7 separate regions of the Homo sapiens genome follow, and regions 1, 2, 3, 4, 5 and 6 are each linked to region 7. The links are contacts of gene promoters, found by promoter capture Hi-C in human tissues and cell types (Jung and others, 2019). All regions are on one chromosome and are shown on one strand. Each heading gives the region's core, a stretch centred on a gene start or on the middle of the fragment in contact. The rest is flanking DNA. Distances are from core to core; before and after follow the strand shown. Region 1 overlaps MACROD2 (mono-ADP ribosylhydrolase 2). Region 2 overlaps MACROD2 (mono-ADP ribosylhydrolase 2). Region 3 overlaps MACROD2 (mono-ADP ribosylhydrolase 2). Region 4 overlaps MACROD2 (mono-ADP ribosylhydrolase 2). Region 5 overlaps KIF16B (kinesin family member 16B). Region 6 overlaps MACROD2 (mono-ADP ribosylhydrolase 2). Region 7 holds the start of FLRT3 (fibronectin leucine rich transmembrane protein 3).

What was found. The method cuts DNA at HindIII sites, captures the fragments that hold promoters and counts their contacts. A contact is called where the count stands out against the background at its distance.
Region 1: a fragment that was not itself captured here is called in contact with the fragment with the promoter of FLRT3 in region 7 in 1 of the 25 tissues and cell types used here (dorsolateral prefrontal cortex).
Region 2: a contact is called between a fragment that was not itself captured here and the fragment with the promoter of FLRT3 in region 7, in 1 of the 25 tissues and cell types used here (dorsolateral prefrontal cortex).
Region 3: a fragment that was not itself captured here is called in contact with the fragment with the promoter of FLRT3 in region 7 in 1 of the 25 tissues and cell types used here (dorsolateral prefrontal cortex).
Region 4: a fragment that was not itself captured here is called in contact with the fragment with the promoter of FLRT3 in region 7 in 1 of the 25 tissues and cell types used here (dorsolateral prefrontal cortex).
Region 5: a contact is called between a fragment that was not itself captured here and the fragment with the promoter of FLRT3 in region 7, in 1 of the 25 tissues and cell types used here (dorsolateral prefrontal cortex).
Region 6: a fragment that was not itself captured here is called in contact with the fragment with the promoter of FLRT3 in region 7 in 2 of the 25 tissues and cell types used here (dorsolateral prefrontal cortex and lymphoblastoid cells).

The regions. Positions count from the first base shown.
Region 1 is chr20:15,865,710-15,869,014 of GRCh38, forward strand. The region is part of intron 9 of MACROD2 (mono-ADP ribosylhydrolase 2); the gene reads left to right. Among named protein-coding and RNA genes, the nearest start is that of KIF16B, 710 kb to the right of the region's middle. The HindIII fragment of the contact is 6,134 bases long and covers 1-3,305 here.
Region 2 is chr20:15,975,302-15,978,828 of GRCh38, forward strand. All of the region lies in intron 13 of MACROD2 (mono-ADP ribosylhydrolase 2), which reads left to right. The region is part of intron 1 of LOC613266 (a long non-coding RNA gene); the gene reads right to left. Among named protein-coding and RNA genes, the nearest start is that of KIF16B, 600 kb to the right of the region's middle. The HindIII fragment of the contact is 4,742 bases long and covers 1-3,527 here.
Region 3 is chr20:15,836,594-15,839,947 of GRCh38, forward strand. The region is part of intron 8 of MACROD2 (mono-ADP ribosylhydrolase 2); the gene reads left to right. Among named protein-coding and RNA genes, the nearest start is that of KIF16B, 740 kb to the right of the region's middle. The HindIII fragment of the contact is 3,866 bases long and covers 1-3,354 here.
Region 4 is chr20:15,904,686-15,908,149 of GRCh38, forward strand. All of the region lies in intron 10 of MACROD2 (mono-ADP ribosylhydrolase 2), which reads left to right. All of the region lies in intron 1 of LOC613266 (a long non-coding RNA gene), which reads right to left. Among named protein-coding and RNA genes, the nearest start is that of KIF16B, 670 kb to the right of the region's middle. The HindIII fragment of the contact is 3,267 bases long and covers 517-3,464 here.
Region 5 is chr20:16,319,652-16,322,826 of GRCh38, forward strand. All of the region lies in intron 24 of KIF16B (kinesin family member 16B), which reads right to left. Among named protein-coding and RNA genes, the nearest start is that of KIF16B, 250 kb to the right of the region's middle. RefSeq lists a silencer at 2,913-3,175. The HindIII fragment of the contact is 5,671 bases long and covers 1-3,175 here.
Region 6 is chr20:15,812,519-15,815,970 of GRCh38, forward strand. All of the region lies in intron 8 of MACROD2 (mono-ADP ribosylhydrolase 2), which reads left to right. Among named protein-coding and RNA genes, the nearest start is that of KIF16B, 760 kb to the right of the region's middle. The HindIII fragment of the contact is 4,299 bases long and covers 1-3,452 here.
Region 7 is chr20:14,336,290-14,339,736 of GRCh38, forward strand. It overlaps FLRT3 (fibronectin leucine rich transmembrane protein 3), which reads right to left and starts at 1,323. Exons shown (of 3, transcript NM_198391.3): 1 at 1,115-1,323. The region is part of intron 3 of MACROD2 (mono-ADP ribosylhydrolase 2); the gene reads left to right. The HindIII fragment of the contact is 3,050 bases long and covers 395-3,444 here.

The sequences.
Region 1 (3,305 bases), core at 55-2,554, 1.5 Mb after region 7:
AAGGCATTTATTACTCACAAGTCCCAGACAGGTGAGGGATGCCCACAGGAGACCAACAGGAAGCCTGGAGGTGGCAGGGAGCCCAGCCAGCAAGTGGGCAGCAAGAGAGAGCAAGCACCTGGGGGCTGTCTTTATTAGTTCTGTATGCACCACCCCTTAGGCTTTCCCATGGGGGTTGTGGATTGGCTAGTTTAAAGAAAACACTCAGGAAGCAGGAACTTACTTCGATGATTCTGACACTATTAGATTTTTACCATGATCAGCAGTTGTGGAGTATATTGGGTTTGGGGTCAGCTGGATGAGGAACAAGTGGAACATATCACAACTGATCACACAGGGAGGGAAGTTTAAGTAGGCCAAAGGTGACAGGATACAACTGGGTTTCAAACAACTTATGTCAGGCCTAAGAATGGAGGCTGGCCAGGCACAGTGGCTCATGCCTGTAGAAGGAGGATTGCTTGAATCCAGGAGTTTCAGGCTAGCCTGGGCAACATAGCAAGAACTTGGCTCTACAAAAAATAAATAAATAAAAATTAGCTGAGAGTGGTGGTGCATACATACCTACAGTCCCAGCTACTCAGGAGGCTGAAGTGGGAGAATCACTTGAGCTCGGGGATTTGAGGCTGCAGTTGGCTATGATTGCACCACTGAACTCCAGCCTGGGTGACGAAGCAAGACCCCATCTCTAAAAAATATAAATAAATAAATAAATAAATATTGTAGAGATTTTAAAACCAAAAGGAAAAAAAGAAAAAAAAATGGATGCCAAGGCAGCAACTATATGAAACAAATTTATGATACCCTATGTTTTAGGCATGAAAAACGAGGATTCAGCTAGGAAGCAACAGAGCTGTATTTTAAAATTGAGATTGGCATCTGTCATTGCCCAAGTGATAATAGGTTCGTTTTCTCAGAGCATCTTTAGAGAAGGCTGAGATCAACTTCCAGGCTGCATTTGGAGTATTGGGGAAAGTCCCATTTCATCTGCTGCCCATCATTTTTCAGAGATGCCATGCTTCTCTTCTTCTAGTACCTATAAATACCTTCATGGAAACTTCTAATATGAGTTGAATTAGTACTTTTATCATTCATCTCAAAATTGAATTCCATTCACATTATAGAGGTATTGTGGTGCTATTACCTGCAGATGAGCAGGTAAGTGGTAAACGAGAAGCCCAAAGGCCTTTATAGCATCTACAGGACAAGATGGAAAATGGCTTATATTAGTTTGTCAGGCCTCTAAAAACAAAGTACCACAGAGCAGGCGGCTTAAACCACAGAAATACATTTTCTGATTATTCTGGAGGCTAGAAGCCCAAGGCCAAGTGGAGGCAAGATTAATTTCTTCAGAGGCCTCGCTCCTTGGCTTGTAGTTGGCTGTCTTCTCCCTGTACTTTCAAATGACCTTCCCTCTGAGTCATTTGTGCTGTATCTTTCTCTTTGTATAAGGATACCAGTCAAATGGGATTTGGACCCACTCTAATTACCTTATTTTAATTTAATTAGCTCTTAAAGATCCTATCTCCAAATACAGTCATATTCTAAGATATGAGGGTTAGGCCTTCAACATAAAAATTCACAGGGCACAATTAAGCCCATAAAATTGCCCCTTGTAGAAATGCTTTAAGAAACTCCAGGGAAAGAAACCAGCATCGAATTTTTTTTCAACAGTTTTATATCTTGCTGTGGGGTAAAGCACATTTGACTTTTTCCTTCCACAAGTATTATTTGAAAGTAGAGTGTGGCAGCTTTATGGAATTATCATACACTTTGGTTGCAAATAATTTATAGTTACAGTGCACCATTACATGGCCTACAGCAAATAATATTTGTATGATTCAACTCAGAAATCTCTTTGTTCTTTACATAAAAGTGCTTGTATTTTTTCAGTGTGTAGAATTTATTGTGTGCAGTTTTCACTAGACGTAAAAAATTAAAAAAAGAAAAGAAAAGACAATTCCCGATCTGGAATGTGGAAGTCATTTTTTCTTTTTTTTCTACTAGAGTCTTAGTCCTGCTAGAGAACTGAAGGATATTAATTTTCCCCGTAATAACAATAAAGAACATACGGTTTATAACGGTATTAAAGAATCTTGACGTTGGAAGCTTAAGACTTGTCATGGTAAACCCTCCTTCACTCCTCCCTTTAGGAAAAACCAACCTTTGTTTACTGCAATGGTTCTCAACTACGAGCGATTTTGCCCTCCTGGGGACATTCTGAGGCATTTTTGTTTTTCACAGCTGAGGGATGGGAGAGGTTACTGTGCTCTAGTGATTAGAGGCCAGGGGTGCTGCTAAGCATTCTACAGTGCACAGTACAGCACCCTCCACAACCCTCCAGCAGATAATTATTCAGCCTTAAATGGCAATAGTGCAGAGGTTGAGAGGCTCCATCTGCTGGTACTGTCTCTTACCACTCAGGCCATTGCCGCAGTCTTTGCCTTTGGATTGGGGTTATTTTACAGTGTTTCGACTGCTGATGCTTTACCCATAAGTAACTATCTAGCTGGATTTGGAACATGTACCCTCAGCCTGGTCTCTGGCTTCCTGGATTCATGACCCTCCTAGTCCAGACTTCTGGTTTTGCACCCTCTCTGTTCACTCTGTACCCACAGATTTCTATATCTTGACCTTTGTTAACCACATACACCTGCCACCCAACCCCTACTCTCCAGGTCCTCCTGCCACCACCCCACTCCTGGTATCATTTATCTATTACTGCCCATGAATCTAGAGTAATAATCTCAGAAAATATGATCATTACATAGGTTTTATATATCTAATAAAAGTGTGGAACTAAAGGCTAGTATACAGAGCAATGAAGAACAAATTCACTAATTATTTTCTTTATATACCTTAAGCAAGTTTCATTGCTTCTTGGGCTAATACTTTTCTTTTTTTTTTTTTTTCATTAGTTTGGTGACCATTGGTTGATAAACTTACCTTGTGAGCTCACAAAATATGTTTTAATTTTAGATACCTTCAACCCCTTATCATTATCTGCATAGTAACTGATTCATTCACAATGAAATCACCTATGACTGAAAAAACTACCAACTACTATTTTTTAAATTTGTTTTTCAGAGTCAGGGTCGTACTCTGTCATCTAGACTGGAGCGCAGTAACGCAATCATACTGATCATAACTCACTGCAGCCTCGAACTTCTGGGGCTCAAGGGATCCTCCTGTTTCAACTTCCTGGGTGGCTGAGACTACAGGCACACTCCACCATGCCCAGCTAATTTTATTTGTTTGTTTGTTCTTTAGAAACATGGTCTCACCATGTTGCCCAGGTTTGTCTTGAA
Region 2 (3,527 bases), core at 928-3,427, 1.6 Mb after region 7:
CATAACCTCCTCATCAGCAATTTTGGGAAAACCTAATAAAAGGTAGAATGTTCATACTTTGATGGAAAAATTATGCCTCAGAGATTTATCCTAAACTAACACCCACCCAGAGTATGGAGATATTTATTTACTGAAATGTTCATTGCAATATGATGTTTAATGGCAAAAAAAAAGTGTAAACACCTGAAAGCTCACCCATAACGTGGAATATTATGTATCTTTTAAAAACAAGATTTCCAAATTAATTGTAATGACAGAGGATGATGCTTACTAAAATATGAAATAAAAAAGCAGGACTCAAAGTGTAAATATGTTTTGATCCCAGGATATATTTACATATTTTTGCATATGTCTGCATCTGTGTGTGTATACACACATACAAGAGAAATATGACAACTCACAATATTAAAACTGGCTATCCCTTAGTTATAAAATTATCCACAATTCTCAATGCTTATATGCATTTTTAGCGTATCCATAAGGAAATTGCATTTCTTTTGTAACTACAAGGCAAAAAATAATTTTTAAAAATAACTTACAATAGGAAAGTAAGTTTTATTGGCTCTAAGAGAAAACCAAGGATGTCTAGAAGATAATCAAATTCACACTAATCTAGGCTTAACTTTTGTTCTTAATCTGGGATATTTTTAGAAATTTTTATAAAAGTACAGTTTTGAATATTAGCAGCAATCAACTTTCAAGTTTAACAAAAAGACACAATTTACATGATTTCTTCAACACAAGCATCAAAGAAACAGTCTTTGTTCTTAAGAAAACTTGAGCATCTAATAATCTGCAAGCAATAAAATTATATTGTTGTTGCTATTGTTCAGAAACAGTCCATTTACAAAGTGAGTTCAGGTTTATCCCCTAGAAATGCTTCATTCTAGACTGATGTCCCCAGACCAATTTTTATGCAAATTAATTAAAGCTAAAGCATTAGCTTGAGCCAAACTTAATTACCAAGGCTCCAAGAAACAATCATGTGATCTATTTCTAAAGAAAAGCGAATGGATTTTTGGATTATCTGTTCTAATGGTCCCCTCCCATAAGTATGGCTGATTGAGTTCACTGTATGAAAAATATATACATAAACTGTGGAATTCTTTGTGTTCTTTTGTTTCCTCAGCCAGGAGGGATTAGGGCAGAGGACAGTGGGGAGAATTCAACTAGTCCGAATGTGAAGAGGGAAACATAAAGCTTGCCCCCATGGGGCCAAGAAAGCAGGATGGAATGTGAAAGGTCTGCATGCACTGAGGAGAAAGGCAGATGGGCTGGAAGCCCTGGGAGGAGTCATTAACACACAGCAGGCCTGGGTGCGGTGCAAGGCAGTCAGGCATACCTTGTCTTTGTGCAATACGCCAAAGCCTGCCTCGTTTTCAAAGCTGGACACCTTGTTTTGTTTCTTCCCCCATTTTTAATTAACTTTATTTAAGAAAAATGAGAAAAAAAATTCTATTTCAAGAAAAGATTGTCAAAATATGTAAAGCACACAGGTGAAACAGATCAAGAGTAGAGACAGGTTTAGAGGGCAAGGAAGAGAAATATTCCAAGAGATATTTGAAATAGCACTTTATCCTCAAAGTGAAGGGTCAAGCCTTACAAGTCACAGAAACTCCCTGGTGTTCATCAACAGACTCAGGTTGCCACCTCAAGCAGGCCCACCTTTTCAGCAGTGCCCCAGGCTCTATTAAATGGGGACCTGCTCATTCTTGATTGAATTCCTCTGAAAATTTATCAAGTGGAGCACTGGGACCAGGGGACACACAGGAATACAGATTTTGGCCTTTTCCCCTCTCTGGATGCTCTACTCTTTCCCTTCATGATATAGACGAAGCCAGATCACAAATAGTACGTTAAAGGTCCTTGCAATGACCTGGTGCGATGATTAGGTTCAATGGCCAGTTCCCTATAGCAACAGTGATAGAGAATGAAGCTCACTCAGTAAACAAACAGTGAAGGTTCCCTCTCAGTATCATCCACCCAATAAACAAACGTCAATGTGACTGGAAACTTCATCTGAAGACATAGCTATGAACCTAGGAGATTATCTCGTTCCACAGCCTTTTTTCTTTTCAATAGATGATGAAATTAAAGGTCAAAGAGGTTGTGATTTGCCTAAAACATCCAGTTATCTTTATTCCCATTCCAGGGTTCTCTGCAACAAATATAATGTGTGGAGTGCTTAGTAGCATACAAGACTTTACCTTGTTGTTAAAGGATGCAAGAGAAAGTAAGTTATAGTCCTTAATAACTATTTACAGACCTTGATGAGTACTCTAATACAGGTCCAATTAAATAGACATTGATTGATGACTTCTTATTAAATGGGTGCTGGGCAGGAAAATATGAATAAAACAAAATTTCTCTCTTAATCTGGTAAGAGAGACAAAGACAGACACAACTACATCACGGTGTGATCAGGATCTGGATGGTAATTAGGAAAATTCATGTGTATATATCTAAAGAGTCATAAAGATATACACTTAAGGTTTGTACATTTTACTATATGCAAGTAGATCTCAATTTTAAAAGCTAAAAAGCAAAATAAAGACATTTCCAGGCAAAACAAAAAGAAAAGAGGGATTGTAGTCAGGTAGAGCTGGTTATGATTCTTGAAAGCAGAACTGAGATCACAGCACTTACTTTCCAGAGGTAATGTGATGATTAGAGATTACGTGTGAAGTATCTAGGGACAGTCTGGCATTTTTATGGGATCAATAATTTGCAGATTCACTTACATCTTCTAGGCCAGTGCTTCTCAAGGTTTAACTTGCATGCAAATCACATGGACATCTTGTTATACAATGCAGGCTCTGATTCTGTAGGTCTGTGATGAGGCCTGAAATTCTGCATTTTTGAAAAGCTCCCAGGTAATTCCAGTGTTGCTTGTCCATGGACCATACTTTTGTTAGGGACAAGCTGCCCCAGGACCACCCCCCTCCCCAAAAACAATGCAGCTGACCCTTACTCCGAATATTCTGCAGCTGCATTCCTGGACCCTTATCTAGGCACTACAGCAAGGTCGCCAGACTTGCTTACAGCCCTCCGGGTGGCATGGGGGAGGTCATGAGAAACGTGGATAAACCTAAGTTACACCCTCTTGTAAATTCCTATATTGTAAGCTGGTCACGAGATGATATGTGGTAAAGTTAACCGACAAAGAACCCCAGGGTCTCTCTCCACCATATAAACCCCTCATTTTGTAAGTTCAGGGCTGCCTCCGCTGACTGTGGTGGAGCAGCCCAGCAGGCTAATAAACTTACTCGCCTGACCTTGGGTCTCTCTCTCTCTCTCTCTCTCTCTCTCTCTCTCGTTCTTTCTCTCAGCTAACCTTACAACTTTGAGTGGCAATGGGGAAGAATGAGGATGAATGGGTTTTTTCAAAAGTGGAAAGGTCTTGATCAAGTTCAAATTTTAAAAGGCCTTTCTGCTATCAAATCACAAAATAGAATATAGGAGAAGAAAATGAAAGATCCAAGAGACAGATGATATATCCCTAAATGAGGAAAGAAGGCAGGAGACTA
Region 3 (3,354 bases), core at 369-2,868, 1.5 Mb after region 7:
TAATTTCTGTAATTTTATTATAATTCACAGAGCTGCTTTTATTCATTTTACAAATTGCTTTCAAAGCATAAATGATGTATTGAAAGGGATTGACTATCCGTAATAGCTCTGATGTGTGAGTGGCTGGTGGACTTACCACTTTAACATGATCTGGCATCAACCTCCATGAGCTGCGCAGTAAGAATAGCAATACCAAATTGTGGTAAACCTCAAGAGTTTTCAAGGAAGCAATATGGGTCTAATTGGGCAGAAGCTTAGCAAGTAGACCACAGCTATTTCTTTGTAGAAAGTCCAGTTGTGTATTACAAAGATTGTGCCTATAAGGTTTGCCTTGCTAAATGGAAACCACAAGGAATGGGCCTTTGGATGTCTTCTTGAATCAGAGCATTAAAGGGACTTAGCTGGAGTTCAATAAGGATAACATTTTTTTCTTTGCAAAAATATGAGCTGTGTGCACCAGCACACATATGTACTTGGTCTGCAGGCTTCTCTCTAGGTTGCCAAGAAAATAGGTTTTGATGGACAGGGCTGTACCATGAAGGATAGTAGACGAAAAAAAAGATATTAAAGGAAGCCCCCTTTTTAACCTTTAAACAAAGTTAAACATGCAGTGTTTCTTAATATTGTTTAACCATAAATGCCTTTTCAAAAGTATAATATGCACTAAGATTTGCTCTGTGGAACTTGCTTGGGTAATCGGATCTTTTAAAAGAGAGAGAAATTCTGTGGAGTGAGACACAGAAAATCTTATTGAATGGGACCCCTTTTCTCCGTGTGGGAATGAACTGGTCTCTCAACTTTCTCCTTAGCTAACTGTCTGCAACACTACAGACTCGTATCTACCTCCAACATGAGCCTCTCTTGTCCTCACAAGAACCCCTCGAGGGCTCTACTGTGTCCTCAGTAGCAGACACTGTATCATGTTCAGGTGCTTGTCTGTTTTTTTGATCACTAGCCCCATCAATCTGTTTTTTTCCAACTTGCCGCATTCTACACATTTTCCTCCTCAGGTCACCAAAGTGCAGCCTTTCATTTCTACCTCCAGAAACTCAAGAGTTTCTGGAAACTTGATTTGCCCCATATTATTAACAAAACAATTTTATTAACATATATATTGGCCTCTGAGCTGCTTCTGACCACAGACACCTTAGGTTCCTCTTGGTTACAAAAGCTGTGGTCTATCTCTGATGATGTACGAAAGAAGCTGATGCTTATCCTGTGGTTGTTGGTCCTAACCTCCTGTTTAGTCTTTTTGTAATTTGAATCTCATGCAACTTTTGTGATACTCTTAGCCCATCATCAACTGCTTAGCCCATCATCAATTGAAAATAATCAGATATCCTAAAATCATCAGCCAGCGAACTTTTCAGATTGTTGGCACTTGAGTTTTTGTAGCACTAAGTAGGAACTATCACCTTACCCCAGTGTCATAAATCTATGGGACTAAAAATTTTGAGAAAAACTCATATACCGTATTATATTCAATACTCCAGAGATCTACTCAGGTTAATTTTCTTGTCAAGATTGGGCAGCTTTTGACCTAGAATATCAAGCTTTTTTTTTACTATGGGGCTGTGGTACATTCCATTCTTTCCTTTTAATTTAGTAACACTTGGATTTCCTCTCTAATAAGGAACAAAGTAAACAATAAACTCAGAAGCTCCCAATGCTCTTCAGTGTAGGAGAAATTATTTCACATTACCAGGGAAGAGAAGGAAGTTGCTTTTATCCTAATAGTGATATTCTCATTTCTTATCTTTCTATGCAAAATGTTTAATGTTTCCATCTTGTGGAGCCCTTAATTACATCCTTACCAGATGTGATGCAAAAATTAAGCATCAATTAGCTTTTTCTGGATTGCACACATCCTTAAATTCTGTTTTCAGATCACTGCAACTTAACTTTGTGATTTATATTGGAAAGATAGCTTTGGGGGTTCATTTCACTTCATTATTCTTCAGCAATTGTATTTCATCCCCTTAGCTATTTCTATGGCAATTGTGCTCTGTTGAGAAGAGATTGACCAGTGTTGCTACATCACAATGACTGTGAGATAAAATCCGGTAGAGCACAGCTAGATTTTGATGAGTTTTTGGATCCCACACGCACAAAAGCAGCATAGGAAAATAAAAGTGATAAGCATCATTTTTTGCATTCAAAGTTGTTCTGATATAAGACAGACTGAACCTTTTAAATAAATACATCAATAAAATGGACTAATGCAACTGTAAGCTTGTAGTCTGGTTTCATTTGATAAAAGCATTTATAAAAATAAGAATGATTTCCCAGAAGTCAGTTAGTATAAGAGGTACAATGGAAAGCCCAGACAGTTTGGAGGACGGCTTTGGGTACTCAACTCATACATGTGTATGCATATGTAAACTGTGTGCTTATATATGGATATGACTATAGATATAGACATATGCACTGTCTTTTGCCCAAATTATTTCCTGTTATGTTTATTGGTAATATTTGCCTCATTCTACATGTAGAATTCCTATTTCAGCTTAAATCTCAAATGTTAGTGAAAGCCTAATTTTTTATCCATCATTTCTCAAAAAAGGCTCCTTACAATATATCTCTTCATGAAGAGAAGAAACAGAAGCATCCCTTGAGAGGAAATATAGCATTACACTTGTGAGCAAGGACTATGGACAAGATTGCCCAAGTTCGTCTCTTTCATCACATGATGAACCGAACCATTGGCCCCCGTTCTCAGTGGCTCTGTATGCCTATATCCTTGCCATGGTCTCATTGTGAGAAAAGAGTACATCCCGATTCCTTGACTTTTTCCTTGGCTCTGTGACTTCTGTCGGCTTACTGAAAGGTGACGGAAGTGAGGCTAAGTTAGTTCCAAGGCTGGGCCTCGTAAGACCTTGTGCATTTTCACTTTCTGCTCTTGGCACTGCCATGAGACTATTGACTTGATAACTCATTAGTCCAGAGGGGATAAGAAACATGTGAAACAGAATTGCCCCAGCCCACCTATGGTACAAAGCCCAGCTGCCCCAACTGTCATAGCCTAAATCAGAAGCTCCCATCCATTCTCAGTCTAGATTTGGTGAACCTCAGCTGACCACATATCATCTATAAGAAGTATAATGAAAATCCCAGATATTTGAGGGGCTGCTTTGGATAATAACAACACAAACATATATATGAATGTGTGTAGTTCATATGTCTATATATCATCATTGTGAGAATCATTCTGTATTATTATATTACATTGTAATTTTGTGATTATTTATTATGTTGCAATAGCTGAAAATGTGACCACCTGTTATCTGTGTAACTTCAGGCAACTTACTTAAACTTTTTCTGCCTCAGTTCCCTCATCTATGAAATAGAAACAAG
Region 4 (3,464 bases), core at 900-3,399, 1.6 Mb after region 7:
ATCGAGACCATCCTGGCTAACCTGTCTCTACTAAAAATTCAAAAAATTAGCCGGGCGTGGTGGCTGGTGCCTGTAGTCCCAGCTACTCGGGAGGCTGAGGCAGGAGAATGATGTGAAGCTGGGAGGCGGAGCTTGCAGTGAGCCACGATCGCAGCACTGCACTCCAGCCTGCGCGAAAGAGAGAGACTCTGTCTCAAAAAAAAAAAAAAAAAAAAAAAAGAAGGAAGAAAGGGAGGAAAGAGGTGGGGGAGAGGGAGAAAAAGGAAAATAGTTGCAAGCTAATGGAAAGACCCCTGAACTAGGAATCAGATCCCTGAATTCTATTTTCATCCCTTAGGTGTACGATCATATTCTTTACCTCATGTCTCTCAGGTCCATTTAGATATCAAATTCTGTAATTCTACAAACCATCATATTCATGAAAATTGATTCTTTATGAGCTCTTTTCTTCATGCTCAGTAAATATTTCCATCCTTAATTCAAAGCACAGAATCATGGCTTTTAATGGCCAAGTGGGCCTCTGAGAACATCTAGGGCAACACTCTCGTTTCACAGATGAGGAAACTTTCTTTTAAAACTCCTCTGAAATTGTCTAGAGGACTCATGAAAGGTGATACTAAGTTCACTATTAAAAAACTAAAGGAAAAGATCAGTTTATCAGGGCATAGACAGTGGATCTTTTTATAGTAACTTTAAAGGTACCTTTCTTTAAATGTTATAGATGTCTGTGAGTAATTTAGACTATGTGTTTAACAATTTGTCTATTTTGATTTCCTAAACCAAGGATGAAGAATGCATCAGTCAGATGTGTTTGCCTTTGTTTTGTTGAAAACTCAGTCCCCGGGTTTATAGAACTAAAGCATTAGAGTGATTGTTTTCAATGTTGACACCATGCCAATAGGACATTTGAGGACTTATAATATTAGGTACTAATTTTTCAACAGAGAAAGGGTTTATTTTGTCGTTAAGGAGAGGTATTGCTATTTGAACAGTGTTGAATTTTCATGTTACGATTTTGTAGTTGTATTTCAAAATTTCAGTTTTCTAATGTAACAAAGTTGTGCTTTCCTGCTATACCAGAGAGAGCCTTAAAACTGTCCACCTACACTAGAATTTCCTGGATTCACGCCACACTCTCCTAATGCCTTGCTCAAGTGTGCCTGTTCTCTCCTACCTCTTGTCACTCTGGAGCCATCAGAGACAGTCTTAGGAAATGATTTCATCTCCAGGGATCACCATGCCTGAGGAATGACATGCAGAAACCCAGGGTACTGTATTCTCCGTAGACAGAAAATGCTAGCAGAACCACTTGAATCATTTCTCAATTCTCCATCCTGAGAATTCCCCACTGGCTTCTAACAATCTTTGCTGCTGGCAGAAGGAAAGTAGATATGGGGTTTGAGAGGAAAGGGGCAGAGGGAAGGGGAGACTGGCTGTAGAATGTGGAGCGAAAGTGGAATGTTTTTGCTGAGTGCTTAGTGAACAGTTGCAAACTGCCACCCTTGGGAGAACCTCTCATTCAGCCACTTATGGTGTATCCAAAAACGCAGATTCCTGCACCTAGCCCAACCCTTCACCAAATCAGAAAGCTGCATGCTAACTAGATGCAATGCATCTTTGGAGCACCATTTCTTTTGCCTTTGTTTCTTATTTTAAACAATCTCAAACTTACAGCAAATTTGCAAGTACAGTAAAAATAACCTTTTTTTCCTGAACCATTTGGGAATAAGTTGCCAATCTACTGTTTCTATCCCCAAACATTTAACTGAGCATTTTCTACAAATTGGGCATTCATCCTGCATGAGCACAATAAAAAGATCAAAATTAGAACATGAATATGGATATATCACTACTATCTAATTTTCAGATCTCATTTAAGTTTCACCAGTTTTCCAATGATGCTCCTTGTAACAAAAAAAAAAAACGCTTTCAAACTCAAATTTCTCATTTTGCTGCCACATCTCTTTATTCTCCTCCAGTCTGGAACAGTTTCCCAATCTTAATTTGACTTTACTGCCCTTGACACTTTTGAAGATTGCAGGTCAGTTATCTACTCGAATGTTTCCAATTTGGATTGGTCTGATGTTTTCTCATGGCTGGATTCAAGTGATGCATCTTTGAAGAACTATCACAGAAGTGATACTGTGTTCTTCTCATGGCAGGCTATGAAGGGCCCATTATCTCAATTTGTCCCATTATTGACAATATTCACTCGCTTTGATTACTTGATTAAGGTGGTGTCTCAGAGGCTCCTCAACTACACAGCTGCTTTTTCCTCTGTTTGTAATTGATGAGTACCCCTTGTGGGAAGGCACAATGAAACTAGGTAAATGGCCCATTCCTCATTAAACTTTCAATTTATTCATTTGTGTACTTATTTATATCCTCGTGGACTCATCATTTCCCATTCTATTCAATGGGTTGTAATAACGCCTTAGCCTTGGTACCCACCAATTCTTCAAGGAGGTTTGGTTTCTTTTAGTAGAGAAGCGTATTTGGAAACTAGATCTGAGTATTAAGTGTGTGGATCACAATTTGAGATATGTTATTTAAAACAGAACGATCAGATTATCTTGATGGTTCAATGTGGGGAACCAGCTCACAAGATCAGTCAATCACATCTTCCTGATGAATTCATCCAATTGCCAGAATGGTTTTCTTATAGACCTTCCATTATAGCTGTGGCCAAGAGATCAAATTGTCCAACTTTGGTTAAGTTTGGCAGAGTACAGCCCAATGAGGATGGGGAGAGCATGGAAATCTGTTTGGTGTTTAGGGTTTCTAAAAGTGTTAACTCAATCCTGTTGTCAAATTTTGCTTGTCCATTATATAACACCAAATCAACTAATTAGCAAAGGGTTAATATTACATATGTAGGCATGCCCTTGAATTGTTTATGCACCTTTTTTTGTTCTCTTTTTATTGTAAGTGTTAAAATACACATGAGACAAAGGTCACATTTCTACGCTGATGACACGGTGTGCCGTGAGTGTGGACAGTCATTTTGCTAATTCTTCTCATTGGTGGTTCCGCTAGATGGATGATTTCCCTGAATTAGCCATCATAACTGCCATCTGTTCCTGTGCATAGATACAGAGATCTAAAGAGTAGAGGTCAGGAAGAATTTTAAAAAGGGCTGTGTGCTCAGTTGCCTCTGTTTGTCTCTCTAGAACATTCTCTAGACTGCTTTTTGCCTGAGACCTAAGGGGCTGCATTGACTGGACTCCCTCACCCTCAAGCTTTGGGTTGGTTAACTAATATTTCTCAATTTTATTTTCATGACTACACTCCCTAAGGAGGCTTTTTTAGACATTCTTTTTCTAATTGTCTCCACCTGACCATGAAATTTTAATACCATAAATATATTGCATATCTATTTATGAACTGTATCTTTTGGAGGGTACAGACCATTATAATAGCTAAGAGTTTTTTGCTGTGTTTTTTGTTTTTTTCCTTTTTGCCCT
Region 5 (3,175 bases), core at 485-2,984, 2.0 Mb after region 7:
AGGCTCAAATATAGACTAGTGTGATTGTTAAAATCTCTGAGGGGGGCCAGTCTTGAGGAAGGTCTCCACGCTTTTGAGCGTTTTACTTCCAGGAGCCCCACCAGGTTCTCACTGTGAAGTTGGATTCTAGTTTTCAAATGATGTGTTCTCACTGTGACATTAGGGGATTGAGCAGGGGAAGGAAAAAGTAACCATTTTTAAATATTCCCAGAGCTCTCTGTTCTCCTTCACAAGGCTCGCTCTTAAGAGAAAGTGTTTTACCAGAACCTAACTACCTTAGGTTTTGCCAGAGCCTAACCGACCAGGGCTAAATGAAACACTCAACGCAGGCTCATGAAAAGACTGCAAACTACCCTAGGACTATAGAAGGCTTCCTCTCACCATACCTTACCATCACATCATGGGGCTGCTGTGTAACAGGGATTACAGCTGAAATAACTGTAAGCCTCAGACCCTATTTTAAAAGACTCCAGGAAAGCCCAAAGACAACAATGGAAGACAAAAACAAGGGCACTACAGGAAATTTTAGCCTCTGACACCACATCGACATCAACCAATAAACCTAGCCTATATCTTAGCCAGATAAACATAAAACCTCGCACTAAAAATCAATCTACCTCAATTCCTTTTACCCAATATATAGTGTCTAGCTTTCAACAAAATATTACAAGGCAAATTAAAAGGCAAAAACACAGTCTAAAGCTATTCTAAAATGAAAAAAAAAACTTTAAAAAAATCAGTGCCTCTGCACCCTCCTTCCTTCCACAAAAAAATGTGAGCCAGCAGGACTTAAGAAAGAGGTGGAAGAAACAAAAACACGATGGGAATGAAAGCCCCAGTAGAAGGAACAAGTGCAGAACAAGCACAATAAAAACAGATTAGCACGCAGCACACAGAGCGGAGAAAATAACAACACAAAATAAAATGTGATAAAAGAAATGTGACCCAAAAAGTTTATATCTAACCAAAGGGTCTTTCAAGTGCCACAAATACACATTCTGAAGCAGATAAGAACTCAGATAAAACACATCAAGGTGCATCTTTCAAAAACATACTGAATGACCAAAAATATCCAACCACAAGATAGCACAATGTAAAGATCTCAGAATATAACTTAAAAAATTTGGGAGGTGGGAGAAAATAAAGTTAATTTTATCTCTGTTAGAAGAGTCACTTAGTAATTTATAAAATGGAAACACATCATTTGAAAACTAGTGACCTTAACATTTCAATTTAAAAAATAATCTTAGAGTCACATATATTTTAGAGACAATATATCATGTGGTGAAGAAAATTTAATTTGAAGTTCAGCAATTTCTTCAGTTTTCATTTTCTTTCACTTCTGTTCAAGTAAAATTAAATGTAATGTTTATACTTAAAAATACCATATCTAGAATAAACACAATGTCGTAAAGTTATTTCACTCTTTTCCCTATTCTTCGATTTTAATTTCTTTTTTGTCAATCTACATCTCCATCCTCTTATCTGTGCCTATTCATTTAGATACTTAAAATAATGTTCATTAAATGGTAACATTAATCATATTTATAGAATCATTTTGGGATAATCTGTTCCTTTTTTTCTTATATTTCCTTGTATTATGTAAAATTTTTATAAATGAACATGCATCATTTTTATAGAAACAGTAAAAAGTGATTATTCTTTTTACAAATTTAATGGAAGAGTTAAATTAACACCATATGTCTTTTTCTTTTAATAACCTAAGATTTGGGGCAACTGGATTTCAAGTCTCAGCTTAGCAAATAGCTGGTTGTATAATCTGGAGCAATGTATAAAAACTTCTCTAGTTCCTAGTTTCATCATCGTGAAAATGAAGAAATTGAACCAAGATGTTTAAGTTTCATTTCAGTTCTGAAATTCTATAACTCAGATGCTGATGATTAAAATCTCCCTACACAGCGTTAGAAGTAACACTTTAGATACCATGGAGATATTTTACCTATTATCTTGGCTATACTGCTTTTGAGGAAGGTATCTTACTTCCTATGAAATCTTCACAGTATTCTCATTTGAAGTAAGGCTCAGATGTGCAGAAGGAAAATGGGGCCTGATATAATAATGAAACATATTATTTTTTCAAGAGGTTGTAGAACAGAAAAAGGACAGACACAAACAGAAATGCAGTATTCATGAGAAAACCCTTAAAATGGCATCTTTTCCTGTTATAGCTATTATCCTTACAGCAGGAGTGGGAAATGATGCAAAGATATTTGAGCTCTTATGGGAAAACTGTGTATTAAAGTTAAAAATGATGACTGAGGTCAAATAAATTGGATATTTGTGACAGATATGATAGGCCTAGAGAATGCTGAAGGAGAGCTTAACAACAGCCCTATGGCCTACTTTGTCTCATTATGAAATTTGGTTATGTAGAGTAAAACACAGGAAACAAACAAATGAGGATTACAATAGCATATTTCTTAGGCCTAAGAAAAGCATAATGGCAAGCTTGTTTTGCAATTCGGTGAATAAAATATATTCAAAAGACAAAAGACAAAATTCCTATGGAACCAAAAAAGAGCCCACACAGCCAAAGCAAGACTAAGTCACTAAAAAATGAAATCAATAATTTGAGGCCTACCGATTTCCAATGAAATTTGTCTTTCCCTTCTTCAGTGCTTGTGAAGTCTAAAAACCCAAGTAATTAGCTTTATTTTGGATGTTCAACCACCAAGCCTCTACATTTTTGGTTGAAAAATAGATCTATATGAAGAATTTTCAAAAGAGTAAGCTAAGACAATTAGTATTTACTTAAATCTTATAAGCTATTTTATAATATAAATTATTTTATAATTATTCGTGAATCCCAGGGTTGGGAATTATGAAAGCGTTGAGTATCATCCATCTAGCAAGTTAGCTAGCTATATGTATATGTATGCATATTAGAAATATAGTCAGCATTCTCTCTGCTGATACTGTAATATTTCTTAATGATCTCAGAGTGAAATTTTCATCTATAAGTTGATTTTTCTCTTTCTGATTCCCGGTGAACTGACACAGCCCAATTTTCTTCTAAGAGTTATCAGGCTCAAATCCTGACTTCAATGTTTATTACATTATAATAAGATAGGTCAGCCAGTCTGCTGCCATCAAGAAGACATGTAATGGAAAAATGTAATGGAAAAGTTTCCTGTTTTTGAAAGCCTTTTCTCTT
Region 6 (3,452 bases), core at 483-2,982, 1.5 Mb after region 7:
TTGAGTTGAAACAGGAAAAGGGAATCCAGTTCTTGGTATATTGGATTTAAAAAAAAAAAAAATACACTCGTCTCAAAAGTCTGCATCCTTGCAAGAATTATCAATTCTGAAATGCCTGTTCATTTTCCACAGATTAGTCTTCATTAGACACAATTTTAGCTAGGTATTCAATTGCATTTGTTTGAGTAGGTAAGTAGAAACCAAGTCTCAGTGATCAGAATTTTAGTACAGAGCTAACTTAAGTTGTTTGCTTTTGTCTCTTCAACGTTAGAAGGACAAATGGTGCCTTGATTTTACACCACTTCATAAATAATTTTCTAGAGCCACATTTTTTACAACAGACTGAAACAAACAGGCCTAGATCTGGTTCTGATTATTATGACAGAGAAATGTGAATACAATAGAGAAATGACATATTAATCATAGTGATGTTTGATATGCTCACTTGGAATGTGAACTAACAGGTTCAGGTACCCCAGAAATATCTCAAAGACTTCTTTTATAGGGCTGATTCCCCCCTTATTATGGAAAGCTATATTTTTCCTATATATTTTATTAATTCCCTATGTCTTTATTTCAGTGTAGAACATATTCCTTTAATCATTAGCATGCACCAACCCCTCCCCAAAAAAAGCACAAGCTAAAGCAAATTTATAGAAACCCAACTTGAATTCTAACTCAGCAACTCAAAACCATTGGACATTTCTAAATTTTTTATGTAACCATGACTTCATCTGAAATTCTGTTGCTTACACGTCTTGCTACTTCTTAAGCTCACTTTTCTAAAATGATGAATGCTCATATAAAAGGCAAAACAAGGCAGCCCTGTAGAGACATGTTAAGTCTACAAGTCAATTGATTTCCTATGAGAAACTTTTGAGCTAGGGAAGCAGGGACTCAGGAAAGTTTTGTTTCTTGTTAGATGCCAGCTGAATAGAATTAAATATATTGTCACACCTTGAATATTAAAATATCCTGGCTGGATGCAGTGGCTCACACTTATAATCATAGCATTTTGGGAGCCTGAGGCAAGAGGATCACTTGAGCTCATGAGTTCAAGACCAGCATGGGAAACATAGTGAGATCTTGTCTCTATAAAAAATATTAAAAATTAGCCAGGCATGGTGGCACATGCTTGTGATCCCAGCTACCCAGGAGGCTGAGGTAGGAGGATCACTTGAGCCCAGGAGTTCAAGGCTTCAGTGAGCAGTGACTGGGCCACTGCACTTCAGCCTGGGAGACAGAGGGAGAGATCCCCGTCTCAAAACAACAACAACACAATATCTTGAACTTCAGATGTTTTAATAGAGACAGTGTGATACATGTGTACATAGGGAAGAAACTAGCCCACGGAGTTCACTATTACATAAAACAGCATGGTTTACCTACCATTGCTTTTATTAAAAGTTTTTGTTTTTCCATGTTCATGTTGTTTTTGGAAATATATTGTAAAGTAATATTGTCAAGTAAATAATTTTCTCAAGGGAAAAATAACAATTAGAAAAGAGGTAAGACCCCTTTGCTCTGATACCCTTAACCAAGTTAATTGAGGAGAGAAGTAGAAATAGGAAGAGAAGAAGAGAGGAAGGACAGAAAAAAAGAAAATATATGAGGGTAAAATAACATCACTGCAGGAGATGTTGCCCGTGCCCTGTTCACATTGGACCTTAACACTTTACTATGCTCCACACAATTTTTAGCTTCCAGTATCTGCAACTCTGTTGCAGGGGTTCTTTTCCATTATAGTGGAAACCTTCCTGGTCAGCAGAAGACTACTCTGCACATGGCAGGCTGCCAGTGACAAGAAATTAACATCCCTTAAAACCTTTCCCTCAATCAGTGATTCTCTAGTGTATCAATACCCCAGCTCCCCTCCTCTTGGCTGCCATAATTCTAAGCTTTCTCTTATACACCACATCTCAGAGCTTCTCTGTAGCAGTAAGCTCCAGTGACCCATTGTAGTAGCTGGCTTAATAATTCACCCATTATTGATTGCTTTGCCTCTCTGTGTTACTTCACCACTCTTTCCATGCTCCCTGGGATCACCTCCTAAATAAACCATTTGAACTTATATCCTAGTCTTAACACTATGCCCCTGGTGGAACACAAATAAGATAACTACTATTTCTGTTCATAACAGTTTGTCCTTGGACTCCATTCATTAGAATTGTAATGGCTTCTATTATTAAGACCTGTACAAACTTTTTCATGATACTGCACTTACCTGGGTTATGCATTCTCCCTGCTTTCTTCAATATCCATCACAGGTGTTTCATAAATATTTTCTGAGTGTAGACTAATTCCACCAGTGCAAAGCTTTTGCTACAGCACAGTTCTGGCACACAGTCTGTGCTTACTAAATGTTTTATCAGATGAAGTGTGATGATTATGCCTTTGGCAGTGGAAAGGTCTTTATTCAACTTTTAATTATGTCCAGAAGAATGGCAGAATATGTAGTGTTTGCAACCATCTGGTTGAAATCCACCTGCTTACACAGGTATTTCAGGGCAGAGGGGGTACTTTATCCATCTTAGCATCTGGGAATAATTTATCATAGAGGCCAACTTGCAAAATCAGTCACTCTGGATGCCTCATCCCTTTCAAATGAAAAGGATTTGGCTTCAAGTGCTGGACATGGAAACTGAGAATGCAGTGACTCATTTCTTTAAAAATGTGAATATGAGAGAGGAAGATTTTTATCACTCAAAGTGCAGCACGGTGAGAGCTCGCCTGAGTTAGGTAAAATGCACATAACTTATTTTATGGACACCTCTCTAAAGTGCCTTAAAGCTTAAAGGATAAAGAACCCAGTGGGTTTTCGTTTTGTTATATGCCCCAAGGCTGAAACTCTGTGGCATATTTTAACAGAGTTTTTAAATGGCAAAACAATAGTTCTTTTTTTTTTTAATGTAGTCTAAAATAAAATGGAACTCCAGACCTGTGTGCGACAGCTGGTGTTCATATGACACTGTTAGATGCCTCCTTTTATCCCAATCTCAGTCTCCCTTGGGTAGACAAGAAATGGGAGAGAATAGTCAAAAGTAAGAAACACTTCTACTTGAGTGACATCTTCCTGATCGTAGCAGAATGAAATATTATGACAGTTGTCCAGGTAGTTCTAAGTTTTGAAATTTTTTACTAAAATATTCAGATATAATGGAAGCAAGGACTTCCTGGAAAAATTATCTCCTCAATTATCTTTTTTAAGTTGAAGTTATATGAGTCTGACTTTTAGACTTCTAGTCAAATTATGCAACTTTTCTTCTTCTGCCAGTCAGCTTGTTGCCACTGATAAGTAAAATGGGATTCTAGAAGTTAACAGGGTTTGAGTTTTTTTCCATGATGTTGATTATTAGATTTCAAAACTTTTAAATCTTAAGTTTATTTACATAATTAGTCAATTGTAACCTGAATATCTGAGGAGTTATTAATGTGTCAAGCTGACATTATTT
Region 7 (3,447 bases), core at 73-2,572:
TAAAACCATTAGAGATTTTGGACTAAAAATTGAAAAAAAAATCAATTTTTTTTCTTTTAAATTCTAAATAAAATAATAAAAACAAACCCCCCAGATGTTGAGAAGACATGGATGGGCCTGTTGCACTCTTTACCTATATGCAACCATTTTGTTTCAGACCTAATTCAGTGAACAAAATTTTTTGAGAAGATACATTTAACTACTTTTTCAAGCTTTGTAGTATAAATGCATTTCTTCCAATATAAGATTTTCCTATTATAAGTTGCAAAGAATGGATCCTCTGCAAAACCCACTTGATAAGGGCTCTACTCATTTATTTTTCTTTCCTGCTACCCCAAACTCACTGCATACATCAGGCATAGCTTCCAGGGTGAGCTTTGTTAGTTTTTCTGAGTAGACTTAGCCATTTACTATGCTAGTCACATACTTCACTTGCCTAAGCAATGGATTTTGGTGTTCTATTGAAGAGGGAATATGGTTTGGAAGAGTGTCTCCCCCTCCTCTGAGTTCAATTTACTAGTTGAGATTTGCAAGCCTGAAATGCTTGAAGCAGCTCAGGCACGATAGCAGTGCAAGCTTTAAAATCTAGGTGTAGCTGTTAATCCTTTACAGAGGCACATAAGTCTCCAGGAGTAGCTCGGCTAGCTGTGAGCAAGATGTATGCTTTTCATGTACTGCGTACTCATGGGCTGAGGGATTATTGATTTTCTTTCACAGTTGTAAAAACAGCAATTGGTGATCATCCCACACGTACAGTACACACCAAGTTGCTTTCCTATCTGTGAAGAATCTCCTTGTATTCTTTAATATTTAACATTGAACTTTCCAACTTGCTGTTTTCCATAAGGCTCTTTTCACATAGCAATTACTCAAGACAGAAAATAGCCACTTACTATCTTTTATAAATGAAAGAAGGTTCTAAGAAACTTCTTACATTCAGCCATGATAGTGAAATTTTTCATTGCTGGCTTGCACGCACATATATTGCTTGTTGTGGTGACAGAGCAAACGTTCCTATTTGGATTTCTCATAGTATCAAGTCGTTTCTTTCTAGAGAGTAAAACCAAGCAAACTTTCTGGGACAATCATAAGAAAAAACATGGAAAACACTTACCAGGAAGACGAGAAAAAGCAATCCTATATACACTGCCGCTATAGCTGTAATTCCATTGACAGTGAATTGGAGTAATAGCCCTCCCCCGTCTCCCAAGCTCTGCGTCCAGTCCACACAAAGCCCACGGCAGCTGCAGGCTGAGCTTGTCCTGCTTCAGATCACTCCTACACTGAGGAGTGAGCGAGGGAGAGCATTCCAGTTTACTGCACACAGCCCACCTCCAAGTCTGAAGTTTAAAGCTTCACCTCGCAGTGGCTGAAGAAGGGGGTGATGTCATAGATGGGCAGGACTTAGCCAAGATCTTGTTCAGTGAGGTAACTGGATAATCAGACAGATGAGCTTTGCAAACGCTAGAGGGGGCGAGAGCAGCCAAAATGAAGCATCAGCCTGCCAAAGCTAGGATGCCATTTGGTTTGTAGGCAGCCCTTTGGAATCTCAACATTTTCTAAAGTTTACTACAAGGCAGTGGTAGCATACTTATGTATTTTTTTTAAAAAGCATGTTAGAAAGATATTTTTAAGATCACAATAGAAAAAGACAGGCTTTGTCTTATTTTTAAACCATCTGTATTGAAAAGAAGTTAACCAAAATCAAATTAGTTTTATTATTCACTAGCTAAAATAATGTTATAATTGTGGAAGATGTATGCCAGTAATCCCAACTGTGAATGTTTATTCAACATATGAATAAACAGCAGATTCAAATATATACATCAGGGCTGGGTGTGGTGGCTCACGCCTCTAATTCCGGCACTTTGGGAGGCCGAGGTGGGAGGATCACCTGAGGTCAGGAGTTCGAGACCAGCCTGACCAACATGTAGAAAAAATTAGCTGGGCGCCCGTAATCCCAGCTGTTTGGGAGGCTGAGGCAGGAGAATCACTTGAACCCGGGAGGCAGAGGTTGCAGTGAGCCAAGATTGCACCATTGCACTCCAGCCTGGGCAACAAGAACGAAACTCCATCTCCAATATATGTATATATATACACGTGTCACTGATTCATTTAGTTATGGGAAGGGCAATAGGAATGCCAAAAGATTTTTTTAAATGGTATTAAATGGTCTGTTCTTTTGGAGGCGAAGAAGTTACTGTTCTCTATGTTTTAGAAAATGAAAGTATGTTTTATGTACTTCTGCTACGTGTTTATATTATTTAAAATGGATTATTTATATTTAACGATCCCCCAATAAAATGTTTTTAAAAAATTTAATAGAATATTTTCCTTTCTAAATGTTTTTGCTGATCTGAGCATGGGTTTAGATATAAACATCTTAAGAAAAAAATCTTTCAGGGTGGTTTGCCTGGATTGAAATTATTTTAGTTTAATTTAGGTACATGAATAAACACTGGACAATTGTAAGACGTGGAGATTATAAATTTCTATGCCTAATTAACAGAATTATACTTGTATTTTTAATTATGATTTTTGTAGACTGGTTTCTGCTATTTGGTCAACAATTGCTTTGTGCCCGTAAGTTTTCCATCAAATAAGTGTATTTCACTTGTTCATGTTGGTGGTAAGAACTTAGCTTTTATATTTACCTGGAGGACCGTTGTCTTAAACTAATATCTTTATTTGCTCTATTCTTAGAGGTGCATGACCTTCTCCTTTGTCCTTTCTCAATTTTTCCCTGCATGTTTATTTCTGAAGAAGGCCAGCTAATAGTCTTTCCCAGGACTATTTGATTGTGGTCTCTTCATTAGCTTCATTTAGTTTATCTATTTATATATTTGTTTGATAACAGTTTGACCTGAGTTCCCTTCCAAGAATGGGTGATATCAAAGTAGGTGAACCCTTGATAAGAAATGTATTGACCCTATTGTTCTATGATTGCACTTTTGTGGGCCTCAGAGGACAGACCCATTAAATCTAGGAGTTTTAGATTCTAATGTCCATTGAAAAGCCAATTTCTTTGAACTGCTAGGTAGTACAATTAAACTGATATGCAGCAGCTGAATTTTGGGAGGAAAGGGAGGTGGATATTTTTCTGTTACTATGAAACAAAGACATGGATTAAATTATTTTATTAAATAATTATTTCTAGAAGCCATTTTCAGATAGGAGTTGGTTCTGTTTAAAAAAGAAAATTTTTGCCTGGTCAAATTCCTGTGGGTTTATAGCCATATTTAATCAGTTTCGTCTTCATTCAGGCAGGCCTTAAACAGAAAAGAAAAATCAATTGGTGAATTGGGTTATAGGTATCAAAAATAAATTGTACTGGCCTGGGAGTTAGCAGTTTGGAGGTTTCCCTTCTCTGGGCTGCCATTGTTATATGACTTCATATTTGTTGCCCTAGGCTTTGGTTTCATCACTTGACAAATAAAGGCAGCAAGG